3 separate regions of the Homo sapiens genome follow, and all the other regions are linked to region 3. The links are contacts of gene promoters, found by promoter capture Hi-C in blood cells and fetal thymus (Javierre and others, 2016). All regions are on one chromosome and are shown on one strand. Each heading gives the region's core, a stretch centred on a gene start or on the middle of the fragment in contact. The rest is flanking DNA. Distances are from core to core; before and after follow the strand shown.

Evidence for each region. Contacts are between HindIII fragments. The CHiCAGO score rates a contact against its expected background, and 5 or more counts as called.
Region 1: a contact is called between a fragment that was not itself captured here and the fragment with the promoter of LRRC8B in region 3, in 1 of 17 cell types (activated CD4 T cells). The highest score is 5.3, in activated CD4 T cells.
Region 2: a contact is called between a fragment that was not itself captured here and the fragment with the promoter of LRRC8B in region 3, in 3 of 17 cell types (neutrophils, total CD4 T cells and non-activated CD4 T cells). The highest score is 6.1, in neutrophils.

Annotation. Positions count from the first base shown.
Region 1 is chr1:88,980,207-88,985,017 of GRCh38, forward strand. The region is part of intron 2 of KYAT3 (kynurenine aminotransferase 3); the gene reads right to left. RBMXL1 (RBMX like 1) reads right to left here. Exons shown (of 3, transcript NM_001162536.3): 3 at 1-3,860. The coding sequence starts at 3,620. The coding sequence ends at 2,448. Among named protein-coding and RNA genes, the nearest start is that of KYAT3, 10 kb to the right of the region's middle. The HindIII fragment of the contact is 4,277 bases long and covers 581-4,811 here.
Region 2 is chr1:88,962,136-88,966,596 of GRCh38, forward strand. It overlaps KYAT3 (kynurenine aminotransferase 3), which reads right to left. Exons shown (of 14, transcript NM_001008661.3): 5 at 2,694-2,843; 6 at 1-10. Among named protein-coding and RNA genes, the nearest start is that of KYAT3, 28 kb to the right of the region's middle. The HindIII fragment of the contact is 2,075 bases long and covers 722-2,796 here.
Region 3 is chr1:89,522,966-89,527,588 of GRCh38, forward strand. It overlaps LRRC8B (leucine rich repeat containing 8 VRAC subunit B), which reads left to right and starts at 1,864. Exons shown (of 6, transcript NM_001369817.2): 1 at 1,864-2,057. RefSeq lists a silencer at 1,728-2,187 and enhancers at 2,889-3,390, 3,391-3,892. The HindIII fragment of the contact is 21,216 bases long and covers 1-4,623 here.

The DNA.
Region 1 (4,811 bases), core at 1,469-3,968, 540 kb before region 3:
GTTCTGCATGTTGATGGTGACAGTGGCTTCATGGCATATACATCTGTCAAAATAACCATTGAGTTGTAATTCTAAACAGATACAGTTTACTGTAACTTGATAAAGCTGAATTTAAAAAGCTGCCAGAGTATTCTGAAATCATGCCTTCTTTTCTCCCTCTGGACCAAGCACCCGCCCAAGCAAGCCAACTTTAACAAAATTATCTCATAGATTTTGGATTTTTTTTTTTTTTGCCATGTTAAAGTTGTATTAAGTTTCAATACAAAACATTCCAAAAAGTGAAAAGTGATCTATAATACCCAAGTTCTATGTTCAACTACCACTTAAACAAGGAAAACATTTTCTAATATCATTCTGTTTTACAACCAGTATAAACCCAGAAGAATCAAGATCTGATTCTTTTTCCACACGTCTGCTAGTTCAGTAAACTATTTATCAAACAGGTGTCTGGTCATTTTAACATACTCCTTGCTTTGAACAATATTCATTCATATTTGGTACAAACTCTATATCCTATATTTAGGATATCTAAATATTTTAAATATTTAGGATATCTTAAGAGCCAAAAGGTCCTCACAGAAGCTTTAACCCAAGTAATCATAAGAATATGGAAGGATTCGGCTAAGACAACTATGGAAGTGTAACAACCACATAAATTTGGTCATTACCCTTGTGGTCTGTGATTAGTAGTAGTCTGCCAAATGAGAGTTAAAAATGTTGTACTTACTATCCCTAGTTGCAAATGTTAAAACATGACAGTGCCATAATTACAACAAAAAAAATTAGAAGTTGAGTTAGTTCCTCTAATCCAACAACTCAAGTCTGTTTCCTTTGAGAACATTACACTATTGGCTCTAGTCTCCAAAGCAATAAACTAAAACTTGTTTCCAAGACGGGGAGGTAAAGCAGGCTTATAAAACAATACAGCAAAAGAAAGCCAAGTGGCCCAATTGTTTCCAGTGTGTTTGCCATCTTAGCATGGTTGTTACTTTCCAGATGTCACTCATAAGTTTTATTCTACAACTAAACTGTTTGTGGATAAGCCACCACAAAAAAATGTTTCACTTACTGACAAGACACTTCACCAGATAGAGCTACCACTTATATCCATCATTTTTATAATTCATCTTAAGTTCTAAATTGAAGAGTTGTCCCCATGACTTTAGCTAAACAAAATGAAACCCAAAGCTGTAAAATCTGTGTAAAGGACCACGAGAACCTCCTGACTACCTCCACTTACCAATTTCCTTAATTACTTCCCCTTTTCCATTTGGTCAATTACTTAAGTAACTACCACTCACTCCCTAGTTATGAGTGTTAATCAACACTGATGCCTTCCTGAGATCCACAGGAACCCTTGAAGGCAAAATCTATTGCCTGCACCAAACCAATTCTGACAGCACTGCTTATGCAACTGCACTGACTTACCAACAATCAGCCGCCTTCTGCTTCAACAACTCTTAGCATTTGATTTCTCTTACTGCCAGCGTTATCTACTGTGAATCAATCAGCACTCCACAAACATAATGAGCACAATCTTCAACCATCTTTGCTGTTTCACAGGCATTTGATGCTTTAAATCTGATGTGGAATGCTGATAGATTCACTTTTTAGAAGTCATAAGCCTTTAGGAAGTTGGAGATAAATTCATTGCTTATCTATTTTCTCCTTTGCAATCAAGCTGTTCCTTTAAAAGTGAGACATTAGAGTTGCAAAAATTTGAAAGAGTAAGAGCAAGCACCTTTGCAGCTTCATGGTTGGTTTTGGCCAAACTTTTTATTTAGTATTCCGTAGTTGTTTAGCACACACTTAAATGGTCTTATTGTGGGAGGGGAAAGGGGAGGTTCTTGCAGATTCCCAAGGAAATGTCAGAAAGGCAAAATGGCCAGCATTATCCATTTGCTTTTTTTGGGTTTACTGGGTGAATAGCACTTTCCTTACATAGGCATCTGATTTCAGGTTTTGCATACTGAGAACAGTGAGATTTCAGTTAGAAAACACCCTGAAATCTTATGAGTAGCATACTCCAACCACCCTCTAATAGCTAGCTTGTTTGTATAGGCAGAATGATTCATCTCTCCATTTTAGTTGGCTAGATGTTTTGTGGAAGATCTTAGAATTGCTTGCCTCATTTACTGGGAAAAACCAGATAGGAAGTGGTCTTTAGGGACACCTTTACTTGGAAAGTTACAACACTAGTACTACAAGGCTTAACACATTTAACATTTGCTTGTTGAAAAGCAATGTCATAAAGTCAAATAAAATTAAACATGTTTTACTTTTTTCCTCACAAGAACATAAAAATTACGGAAGGGACTTAACAGGGAATTTAAAAAAGGTAACACAATTTTTCCTTTTAGTAGTCCTTGGGTAGTTATGATAGAATAGTTTCCACTCTTTTTTTTGTTTCTTTGAACTGGGATTTTGGTCCAAAGTTTTGTTTGTTTCTAGTATCTGCTTCTGCCTCCCCCTCTATCAGATCGGCTTCCTCCAGGGCCAGCACCTCTTGGTGCTCCGCGGCTTGAACTGCTGTAGGAATCACGTGAAGAAGGGTACCCCCTTTCTACAGAAGGGGGAAGCCCTCTTTCTTGTCTGCCAACCCTGTCACAACTTGAGTAGAGATCACTTCGGCTGCTTGAGTAACTGTCTCGACTTCCACCATATCCATCACGTGAGCTGCTATAATCATCATAGCGACTGCTTCCACCATAAGATGGCGGGGGCCCTCGTGTAAGTGGAGCACTACGTGAGTTACCATAACTCTCATATGAATCTCTGTAGGAACCTCCACTTGGATGATCTGAATAGTCACGATCACGACCATATCCATCTCTATCGCCATAGCCTCTTGATGGATAGTCATCACGTGAACTGGAATGACCATAATCACGGTAAGTATAATCTCGTGGTGGTGGTGCATAATCTCTTGTATCACGAGAACTTGGGTAATCTCTGCTTGAATAGCTGTCTTTAGTAGAATACCCATCATCTCTTGGGGACAAATAAACATCTCTACGAGAGGGGAGCGGTTCCCTTCGAGGTGGACCTCCATAACTATCTCTTCCACGTGATAGAGGAGCTCTTCCTCCCATTCCACTGCTGCTGCGAACTAGTCCTGAAGGTGCAGATCTCTTAGGAGAAGGACCCCCACTTCTTGGTGGTGGTCCTCTTTTTACTGGGAGTGGTCCCCTGGAAGAACTCATGTTAAAATTCATGGAATATCCACCATCATCCATGTGTCCTCCTCGTGAAGGAGGTCCCCTGGTTCCTCCACTTCCTCCTCTTCCAGCTCCAAAACCTCTTGGAGGACCTCTACTTCTTGGAGGTGGGGGCGGTCCATGTCTACCTCTTTCAAATGATGGTTTGGTGGCTTGTTCCACCTTGATGGCTTTTCCATCTAATGACTTTCCATTCATGTCTCTGGCTGCATCCTTAGCGTCTGCTGGGCTTTCAAAGGTGACAAAAGCAAATCCTCTTGATTTGTTGGTTTCACGGTCTTTTATCAAGAGTACTTCCACTATTCGTCCATATTTGCCAAATACTGTTTCAAGAGCTTTCTCATTTGTTTCCGTATTAAGCCCACCAATGAAGAGCTTTCCTGGGCGATCTGCTTCAACCATTTTTTTTTTTGCCGGTGAGTCGGAGGGGTGACAGTGGGTTCAAGCTCCAACAAGCTCGCCGACAGGGGCTTCCTAGCAGCTCAGCACCAGTGGCGGCTGTCAGTTAGGAGGACTGAACCGCGAAGCCGCTAGCACTACTGCGCAATCTGGATGCTTTTTAAGGTATGGCTATCCATTCAAAAAACCAGGAAAATTACTTTCTTTTGCCACTAGATGGCAGAGGAAAACAACAGAATGTTCCTGTAATGGTGGAAGAAATGAAAGTAAAACTCAGAAGTGGAAATGTAAAGCAGGGAAAGATGCTTAAAGATACATAAAAAATGCAATTATATTAAGCTCAAAAGTGTGTATAATTAACAGGAGCCCTTTTTTTGTTGCTTTTTTTTTTTTTTTTTTTTTTTTTTGTAGACAGGAGTCTCACAGTGTTGCCCAGGCTGGAGTGCAGCGGCGCAATCTTGGCTCACTGCAACCTCTGCCTCCCAGGCTCAAGCCATTCTTGTGCCTCAGCCACCTGAGTAGCTTGGATTACCGGCATGCGCCACCACACCTGGCTAATTTTTGTATTTTAGTAGAGCAGGGTTTCACCATGTTGGCCATGCTGGTATGGAACTCCTAGCCCAAGTGATCCGCCTGCCTCGGCCTCCCAGTGTTGGGATTATAAGGGTGAGCTACCACGGCTGGCCTTAACTGGAACTTTGAAACAACATATAGTTTGTTACTTTATTTTATAAAGAATTATTTGTGCCTGATACGCTGTAGCTATTTAACATCTGTTGACTGAACAGATCTGCTGAGTGAAAGGGAAGCAATTTGGACTCCCTCTGAGAGATAATGTATTTGGGGAAAAAATTGTACTTCAATAGAAAACTATGCACTGGCCACAGCACAGCTTTAGGGCTGATATTTGCAGGGCTAGAATTTGCCTTTGAGTTATTCTGGGCTTTTGTAAATTGAAGCTAAGTGACAGGCATGCAAATTCTGGTTCTAGCATTTTGATTATCTTCCCTCCACCCTGTAGAAAAAACAGTTTTGCCTTCATTTGCAATCCAATTCCTTTACTACATATGAATTTGTGCTTTTTGACTTTCCATATGTACTGGTTATAACTTCTGTCTGGTTACTTCATATCACATGAGTGAAATAAAAATCTTTAGCACATGTTCATTTTTATATTTGTATGAGTCATGATTT
Region 2 (4,461 bases), core at 509-3,008, 560 kb before region 3:
TTAGTATGACCTGCAATAAAAGCAAATAAGATCACAACCTGTCAATCATTTATTCATGTTAATAATACTGTGTACCTACTATGGGCTAGGCACTGTACTATGTGTTGGGATACAGCAGTGAAAAAGGCAGGCTTTGCCCTTGTGGAGCTAACATCTGAGGGGAAGAGACCTCGGAGACAAACTTGTCCAGGTAGTCTTAATTGGACTCCTTGGTATCTTAGGGAGATCTATAAATAAGCATGCAGTGGGAGTATTTGAAATTACATATAAAATTTCATATATGCATAGATAGATTTACCTGGAGAATGGGACTATCACATTCTCAAAGGGATATTCCAGGCAAAACGATTAAGCATTTCTTCATATTTCAAATCAGAAAATAAAATCTAGAATATAAGTGATGTATAAGCAGTGACAGACAGCAGGCTATGTGGGAAGAGAACACTGTAATGTTCCCTGGTATAAAGTGCTAATTTAAAAGCATTATCTTGAGAGTAAAGATGTTTCTCTCTTCTCAAAAGCACGGTTAATTTTTGTATTTTTAGTAGAGATGGGGTTTCGCCGTGTTGCCCAGGCTGGTCTCAAACTCCTAACCTCAGGTGATCTGCCTCAGCCTCCCAAAGTGCTGGGATTACAGGCCTGAGCCACCACACTCAGCCTCATCTGTGAAGTTCTCAGGGACTAAGACAATCTATCTTTGTAACTCTAGTGGGAAATATAAAGCTTAATACAAGGTGAGAGCACAATAAAGGAAAATAAATTGGAGAGGCAGGGCAGTAGAGTGGGAGAAATATACCTGTTACTCTTCGCCTTGATTTTTTCACTTTTATGATGTGAACAATTCCTCTCTCTCTTTTTTTTTTTTTGAGAATATTTATTGCGTCCTCACTATTTTAGGTGCTGGCAGTAAAGCTATAAAGTTCTCCTAGAACTTATATCCTACTGAGAGAGGCTTATAATGAACGGAGAGACAAATAAGGACATTAGATAATTTCAGATAGTAATAAATGCTATAAAGAAACAATAAATAGGTCAGTATGATAGCAAGTGACATGTATGTGGTTTCAAAATACTAGATAAGTTGATGAAGGAAGAAAGAATAGAGGAAAGAAAGCTAAGGGCTAAGCCTTATAATACTCCCAACAGAGTGCAGAGAAAGAAGCAACAAAGGATTAACAACATCGAAGTATGAGACAAAACTATGTATAGGATTAAAGGAGTTTATGTATATGAAACTGTGAACTTCATTAACATGTTTCCTTAAACATCTTGTCTGGCATAGTGAAGGGAATCAAAGTTGTAAAAGAATAACATAACACAAAGCAGATAGTGGCATCTTTCATAAAAGTGGTATGATAAAGGGTTATGAGAGTTTAAAGAAAGTTAACAATATAGATCAGGATAAATATTCGTTCTGCAGTCCCAGCTTAAGCAATGTCTCTCTGGAGCTTTCCAGACTTAGCAGAGGTGATTGCCTCTTCCTTTTGTCACTACCATAGTGTTCCTCGTAATCCATTTGCAAGTCTGTGTTCTCTACTAGACAGGGAACACCTTCTGCATAGAATCTATCTTTAAAACATCTTCTATCTCACAGTGCTTAGCATATATTGGATCCTCAGTATTTTCTGAATAAATGAAAGAGGCAAAAAGTATTAAAGTAAGGCTATTGGAATGCTAATGGGAAATACGGGTAGAGATGACTGAGGTAGTTGCAAAAGTTGGTCATACCTCACAGTACTAAATCGCAGAAATCATTTTACCTTCCTATTATATTAATACATTCTCAGCTGGGCGTGGTGGCTCACGCCTGTAATCCCAGCACTTTGGGAGGCTGAGGCAGGCGGATCACCTGAGGTCAGGAGTTCGAGACCAGACTGGCCAACATGGCAAAATCCCATCTCTACTAAAAATACAAAAATTAGCTGGGCTTCGTGGCGGGCGCCTGTAATCTCAGCTACTCAGTAGGCTGAGGCACGAGAATCACTTGAACCCGTGAGGTGGAGGTTGCAGTGACCAAGATCGTGCCACTGCACTCCAGCCTGGGCAACAAAGTGGGACTCCATCTCAAAAAAACAAAAACAATCACAAAAACATCCTCACATGGGATGGCTTATACAATTACTGGGCACACAAAGACATTGATCAAAAACTTGTAGACCAAGTTAAGAGTAAAGGTTATTTTAGCAATGAAAACAAAAGATTCTTTTTCCCTGGCAGTGTTAGTCCCTTCCATCTGCCCTTATTTAAATAGGCTATAAAAATAAGAATAAATTATATGCAACAAAATGGATGAATCTCACAGACACAAAAATAAATGAATGGATCTAGACCCAAGAGTATACACTGTATAATTATATTCATATTAAGTAAAAGAGCAGTGAAAACAAGCCTATGGTAATAGAAGACAGAAGAGTACTTACCTCTGGGAGAATATAGACTCTGAAGAGGAACAAAGAAGTTTTCTGGGTACTGGAAATGTATCATATCTTTGTCTGGTTGTAGTTGCACAGAAATTTACACAGTAATTTATCCAGCTGTACATTTAAGATTTGTGAACTTTACTGTACATGCATTATACTTAAAACATAATTAAAAATAAAAAGAGAAAAGAGTAGAATATAAGCGAAAGATTCAAAGGTGGGACAAATGATAATTGATTAATATGGGTATTACGATAATGTTAATATACTTACTTCATCTCCCTCATCAATTAATGCTTGAATGGTGTTAAAAAGAGATCCATATGCTCCTACTGTCACAAGGATTTCTTTATTTGAATCAATTTGCTTTTGATAAAGCTTTTCATACAGATAGGACAGAGCTTTCACAAGTGATGGATGGCCCTGTTGGATTAAAAATAAGAACAAAACCTTGAATTTAAATATGGGACCTACTGTTTGAGGTAATATGGCTCTAAAATGTAAGAATTTTTAAAATTTGGATTTGATGTTTATAATTACCCCAAGAAAATTTATATTTTTTAATGGCAATAAATTTTTTAAAATTTCCTACATTTAGAGTATTCCCACACTATTTGTCATGAAGGCTTGCTAATGATTAAAACTTCTTACTAAATAAAGGGTTTGGGATTATATAATTTCAAAGTATTTGCTTTGAATAAAAATCAACCATTTGTATTTTTTGACAGTAATTAAATCATATTGAAAAGAGTTGGATTTGTTTCCCAGTTAAAATAAGTGAAAAAAACCCACTTTAACTGTATACCCACTCCTTGGCTCTTCCTGATTGCTGGAGAGATGGTTATGCCAACCAATGGACTAGGGAAAGAGAACAAAAACAAATTCACCAACGACACGAACACTAGTGTTGATGTGATAGCAAATGTTAGAAGGAAGTGAGACACTACTCACACTGACAGTCAAGAGAGCAGTGGTTATCCAAGGTAACTACTTTCATAGGAGAAGTGAAGGGATTATGAAGGTACAGCCTGAGGCAAGCAGGGGGTCTGAAGACTCCTGGATTAGCTCTCCCTAAGTTCTCTTCTAGGCTCTCTCCCCTTCCTTCCTTTTTTTTCTTCCTTTTCCTTTCCCCCTCCTTGTTTTATTTGGTATTTAGGTCAATATTTCCTGTTGTTTTCTGTCCAGCATCTACCTCCTCATTTTGCTTTTGAAGTACCATCCTGATTTTCTATCCCTTGAGAGTAAGAGTGCAAGTGCAGGTCATGTACCTTTGTTTGAAAGCACTTTGGGCTCTGGAGCAATAAACTGAGTTCCTTTGAATTTTACTTTAATAGCAGGTCTAACAAATTCTAGCAAGAGGAGATCTGAAAAGCAACTATAAACACTATATACATTTCTTAGAATGATAAGTGTTTGTGCTTTTAAAATTAAAAATTTAAATACAAAAATAATTTATGCTTCATGCAATAAGTAAAACTAGGCAAAGATGTATAAAAATTACAATCGCTCCTCAATATTATTTCATTCCCATCCCCCTGAGGTGATGAATGTCCACAGCCTGGTGATAGTGCAACACCACTCTCAGTGCTTATACCAATATAAAAACACATAGACATGTATATACCTATGTATTTACAAAAACTAGAATATACATATTAATAAATAAGTGGGTATGGTTGTGTTCTAATGAAACTTTATTTACAAAATTTGACATATTGGGTCCATAGGCCATAGATTGCAAAACCCTGCTATAGACCAATTTGGGAAAACTGACATAGACAATATTTAGTCTCTCAATCCATGAACATCATTCCCAATTTATTTAGGTATTGCTTAATTTCTCTCAGTAATGTTTTATAGATTTCATCGTACAGATCTTGGATATATTTTAAAAAATTTATTCTTAAATGTTTTGTGTTTTGGGATACTACTATAAATAGTATTTAAAAAATTTTACTTTCTAATTGTTCATTTTAATATATAGAAATACAACTGATTTTTGTATATTGGCTTTGTGTCCTGTGACCTTGCTCAATTCATT
Region 3 (4,623 bases), core at 614-3,113:
ACAAGAATGTAACTTCTTCCCTCATTGCCTACCTTCCCATTTCCCTTTTTTTTCTTTCTTTTCTCCTTCCCCTCCTGCTGGCTCTTTCCCCTTTAAATACTGAAGTCCTCAAAAACTCTCTTTGCAAAAGGCACAGATCACAGATGTTCCTGTATTTGTGCTTTCTCCTGGGGAATGTCCTTAACCTTGGCAAAATAAACCTCTAAAACGATTGAGACCTGCCTGTCATTTTTTTGGTGCTTAAAATCCATGATGGAATTTTTAATCACTATTTTAGACTTGGGTAAATCTGGCTGTGAAAGTAGTGACAGAGTCTTTTAGAATTTTCTTCTACCAAAAATAATTAATCAGAAAGTCCCTGAGAGAATTTCAGATACTCCTGTAAGGATCAAACCTAAATTTAAATTAGACTTGTAGATCTGTGCATACCCAGTGTCTCACACATATAAACTCAATAAAAATTTATCGAATGACCAAGTGAAGAAATGTTCTTTCAGCTTTTCCTTCAAGACTCAGAAAAAAGATATCTGCAGTTCCAGAATGGACTGAGTGAACAAGAAAAGAACAGATCAGTGACACAAAGACAGCCTTCTTTTTCCCTTTCAGGGTGACTCAAATTGTAGTCCTCATCTGAACAGTCTGAGACACAACTCTTGTCTCATATTAACTCGATAGGGCATTTGCTATACTCCCATTTACACAAACTGCTCAGATGCCCCAAATGCTGAGTCTGTTCGTCTTCATTTTATTCCTTTGGGAGATGCCGGTACAAACTTGTTTTTTCTTTCTTTTTTTAAATGGAGATGTGACCACCATAGCAACTAAAAGACATAAATCTTGCCTAATTGAATCAGTGTGCTCAAGATAATAGCCAGGGCAGAGACTGAGTTAAAACTGGGGTAAGGGTGAGAGTGGGGAAATGGATGAGGATGATAAAAATATTTATGTCCCTAGAATTTGTGGGTTTGGATTAATTCTGTTTCGTAAGGAATATTGTTGGCCTTCAAATGCAGTGCCACTTGGGAGAGAAGCAAGCGGGCAGTAGTTGAGGTGTCTCTGCAGTTGAATCGCAGTGAAAGGCAGGTTATGAGTATAGGGACCGCCCCTCGGCCATGTGGTCCCCTCCCTATCCTGAGGATAACGACATTTGAGAGAAGCCAATGGTATTGGAAGGCCAGAATCGAACTTAAGCCGCTTAGTTGGTACAACTGTAAACCCTCCCTCACAGAGGCTGGGCCCTGCAATCTTTCTAAGCAGGGTAAAGAAAAGTAAGGGGACTTCCTTTTCGAAGAGGAGGTTCCCGCGTGCTGCACCCGACCTTTCCCTCAGGGCCCAACACGCGTTATATAAATGCCAAGTTACTCAGGGACGCACACGTGAGAAGGCTGGGGCCCGACACACGCGGTGTAGTGCCGAAGTCACCGGTGTGGCGCGCCTGGGGGACACGCCGAAGCCCATTTCCCTCCCGCTTCTGGAAAGCAGTCCCCGCTCTTTCCAGCTGCTCCGCGGGGCGTATGGCTGTGCGCTACCTCCTGCGGACCCCAGGCTGGGCGAGGGGGCAGCGATGGCCACATGGCGCGCTCGGGGAGATGGCAGCTGCGCTTTGTTTCCAGCAGTGATAGGTGAGTCACTGGCTCCCGCAGCCCCAGAGCTGGGCAAACACTCAGGCCCAGGCAGCTGAAAAATTCACAGCAGGAGCAGCTACCGAAGCGACTGCAGCCTCTTCCTCCTCTTCCTCCTCCTCCTCCTCCTCCGCCACTGCTACCGCCACCACCGTGGTAGCCGCCTCCGCGCCCTGCCTCCGCCCCGTCCCCTCCTCCTCCACCCGCGAACTTAGTCAGCGGTTCGCGCCGCCGAGCGCCCATTGGCCAGCGGAACGCGTCGCGTCACAATGGAGCCGGTCGGAGGCGGCGAGCCGGACAGCGCCGGGGCTTCCCGCTGAGCCCGCAGCCTCCGGCAGCCGGGAAAGTGCGGGCGCGGGGCCGCAGCCTGCCCGCCCGGAGCGGCCCAGGAGCACGCCGCGGGGAGCGCGGGCGTCCGGGGCTGGAGTCGCGCAGGTAGGTCGGAGCGTGACACCCCGGTTCCAGGAGGGCGAGCCGCGCCGACCGAGGTGGTGGAGGAGGAGGACCGGATACGGGGACGCAGCAGGTGGGGCTGGCCGAACAGGTGCGGTTACCTGTTCACGCCTCACCTGCGAGCCAGGCTGCGGGCCGGTAGCGCGGCTGCAGAGACGAGTGGCCGCTTCGTTGTGCTCCCTGCCTTCGGGAGAGACGGAGTCCCACGCTGAGAGGACCTCTCCTGTGTGCTGGGGTCATTTGGAGCAAGAGGTGTGGGCGGTCGCGCCGAGACGGTCACCTCTCTTTCCCCCGGGAGTCTCGGCGTTGCACCTGAGCGTGAGTCCTCGGGGCGGGGCGGGAAAGGGGTTCCGCTTTCCCAGGCTGGCGTCTCGCTCCAGATGAGCGCAACTCCCCTGAGGGTGCCCCCATTTGGTCGCTCTGTTTTGCCCCCTGCGCTGGCGCTGTTGGGAACTATTTTATGCTCTTGGGAACTATTTTATGCTGTTGGATACGCGTTGGTTGCCTATAATTTGGTGGTGGTGTTGGGCGTTGATTTGTTTGAGAAAGAAAGGGCAAGCGTTACCAATTTAAGAAGAAGACTCAAGAGTTTCCCCTGAGCTTAGTTGAGCAGGTGCTGAGAGGTCAGAAGGGAGGAGGCTCAGTATTGGCTCATTAATCTGTGTGCTCAACTGACTTCCTAAAGTCCATAGATTGCCTTTAGTTAGATGACATTTGTGGAAAACTTTTTTTTTCTTTGTGGTCAAAAAGACACCCCTCTAAAAGAACAAAACCGACATGTGAACTTCCTTGAATAAATTCACTTCGCCTAAAGACTTCAAACAAACAAACAAAAAAACACTCCACTGGTAAAAGATAACAGTATGAACATTTTAAATTGTAGATATATAGCCAAATTAAAACAGGCAATTTGTTCAGCGTATATTAAGAAGACATTACGTAGCATGATTTTTATTAAAAGACAACCTATTTGCAAATGATATAGTAGTCTTTGCAGAACACCCCAGAAATCTTAAAACAGATTTATCTTTATCAGATGGTTCTGTCCCCTAAACCTAGGTGTAGGAGTGAGGATGGAAAAGAAGTCAAACTGCAGTGTAATTTTTTAAACAATTCCAGTACCCTCTATGTGTACAGGCTACACCTCCTGAGAACCCCAAATGCTCTTTGTTTTGTTTCTTTGTTTTGTTTTGAGACGGAGTCTCACTCTGTCGCCCAGGCTGGAGTGCAGTAGTGCGATCTCGGCTCACTGCAACCTCCACCTCCTGGGTTCAAGTGATTCTCCTGCCTCAGCCTCCCGAGTAGCGGGGACTACAGGGGCCCGCCACCACGCCCAGCTAATTTTTATATTTTTAGTGGTGGCGGGGTTTCACCATGTTGGCCAGGCTGGTCTGAAACTCCTGACCTCAAGTGACCCACCCACCTCGGCCTCCCAAAGTGCTGGGATTACAGGTGTGACCCCAAATGCTCTCTGAATTGTGGGTGCCGAGGTGACTTTCTTTTTCTCCTGGCTTTCCTTGTCAGCAGCTCTACTCAGAGAATATAAAGTGACAGCCAACCCCCAAGGTAATTGGGCCTGTGTAATTTTAGAATATAAGCCCTAACATGTCTGATATTTCTGTAAGCTAAAAAGAGGTCTCTTGAATGGGGGTGATGTTGTCATTGAGTGCACCCTTGGGTCATGGCACTTTCCTTATACTTAGTATCCCCAACAACATTTTTAAATCTGCATGTCGGAATTAAGTTTACCATTCTTTGAAATGTGTTCTCTTTTTCCTCAATTGGTAAGGTGTTCCAACATGTTCAGCCTATTATGAATCTTTTCACATTTTGAATGATTTCATTTGACTAGTTGAGATTTGCTTTTTTAAACCTCTTCTCTACCACTATCACCATTTCCCATTGCTATTTTAATTTTCAGAATCCTCAGAGTGAAAACACCAACAGTAAGTAAAATGAAAAGGGGCTTAATAAAACTTAAAGGATACTAAGCCTTCCAAGTTTTTTAGACTAATCCATGTATTTTCCTGTAGTGGCCTGAAATTTGTTATTTTTTGTTGTTTTCTGAAGTTTAAGGGGAAAAATATTTTACAATTTAGAACATCCTTGTTTTAGCCAATGTTTTTCTTATAAACAAGGGTTTTTGTTTTTGTATTTTAGTTTTCAAATTCTTCTAATAGTACCTGAGTATTTTATGTTTTCTGGACTTTTTACTATTCATAGCCTGTTTAACCCAATCCCGGATTTTCATTTGGTGTCTCTAAAGTTGAATTCTCTAATTTTACTCTTATTTCTCCTTCCCAGCATCCTTCTACCACACCCTGATATTATTAGAAATGAATGCATTCTGATTCTGTCATGTTATTACACACTTGGTGGCATGATTTGCATTGCCTTGCATGGAGCAGGTTCTCCACTGCTATCCTGACTCCCAGAGCACTGGGTACATCAGCAAACAGTTCAGACCTGTGACCATTCAAGAGGAATTTGGGAGACCCAGTTATAGTGTAGAATTTATTTAACCATTTGTAAAATACCTTCTAATTTG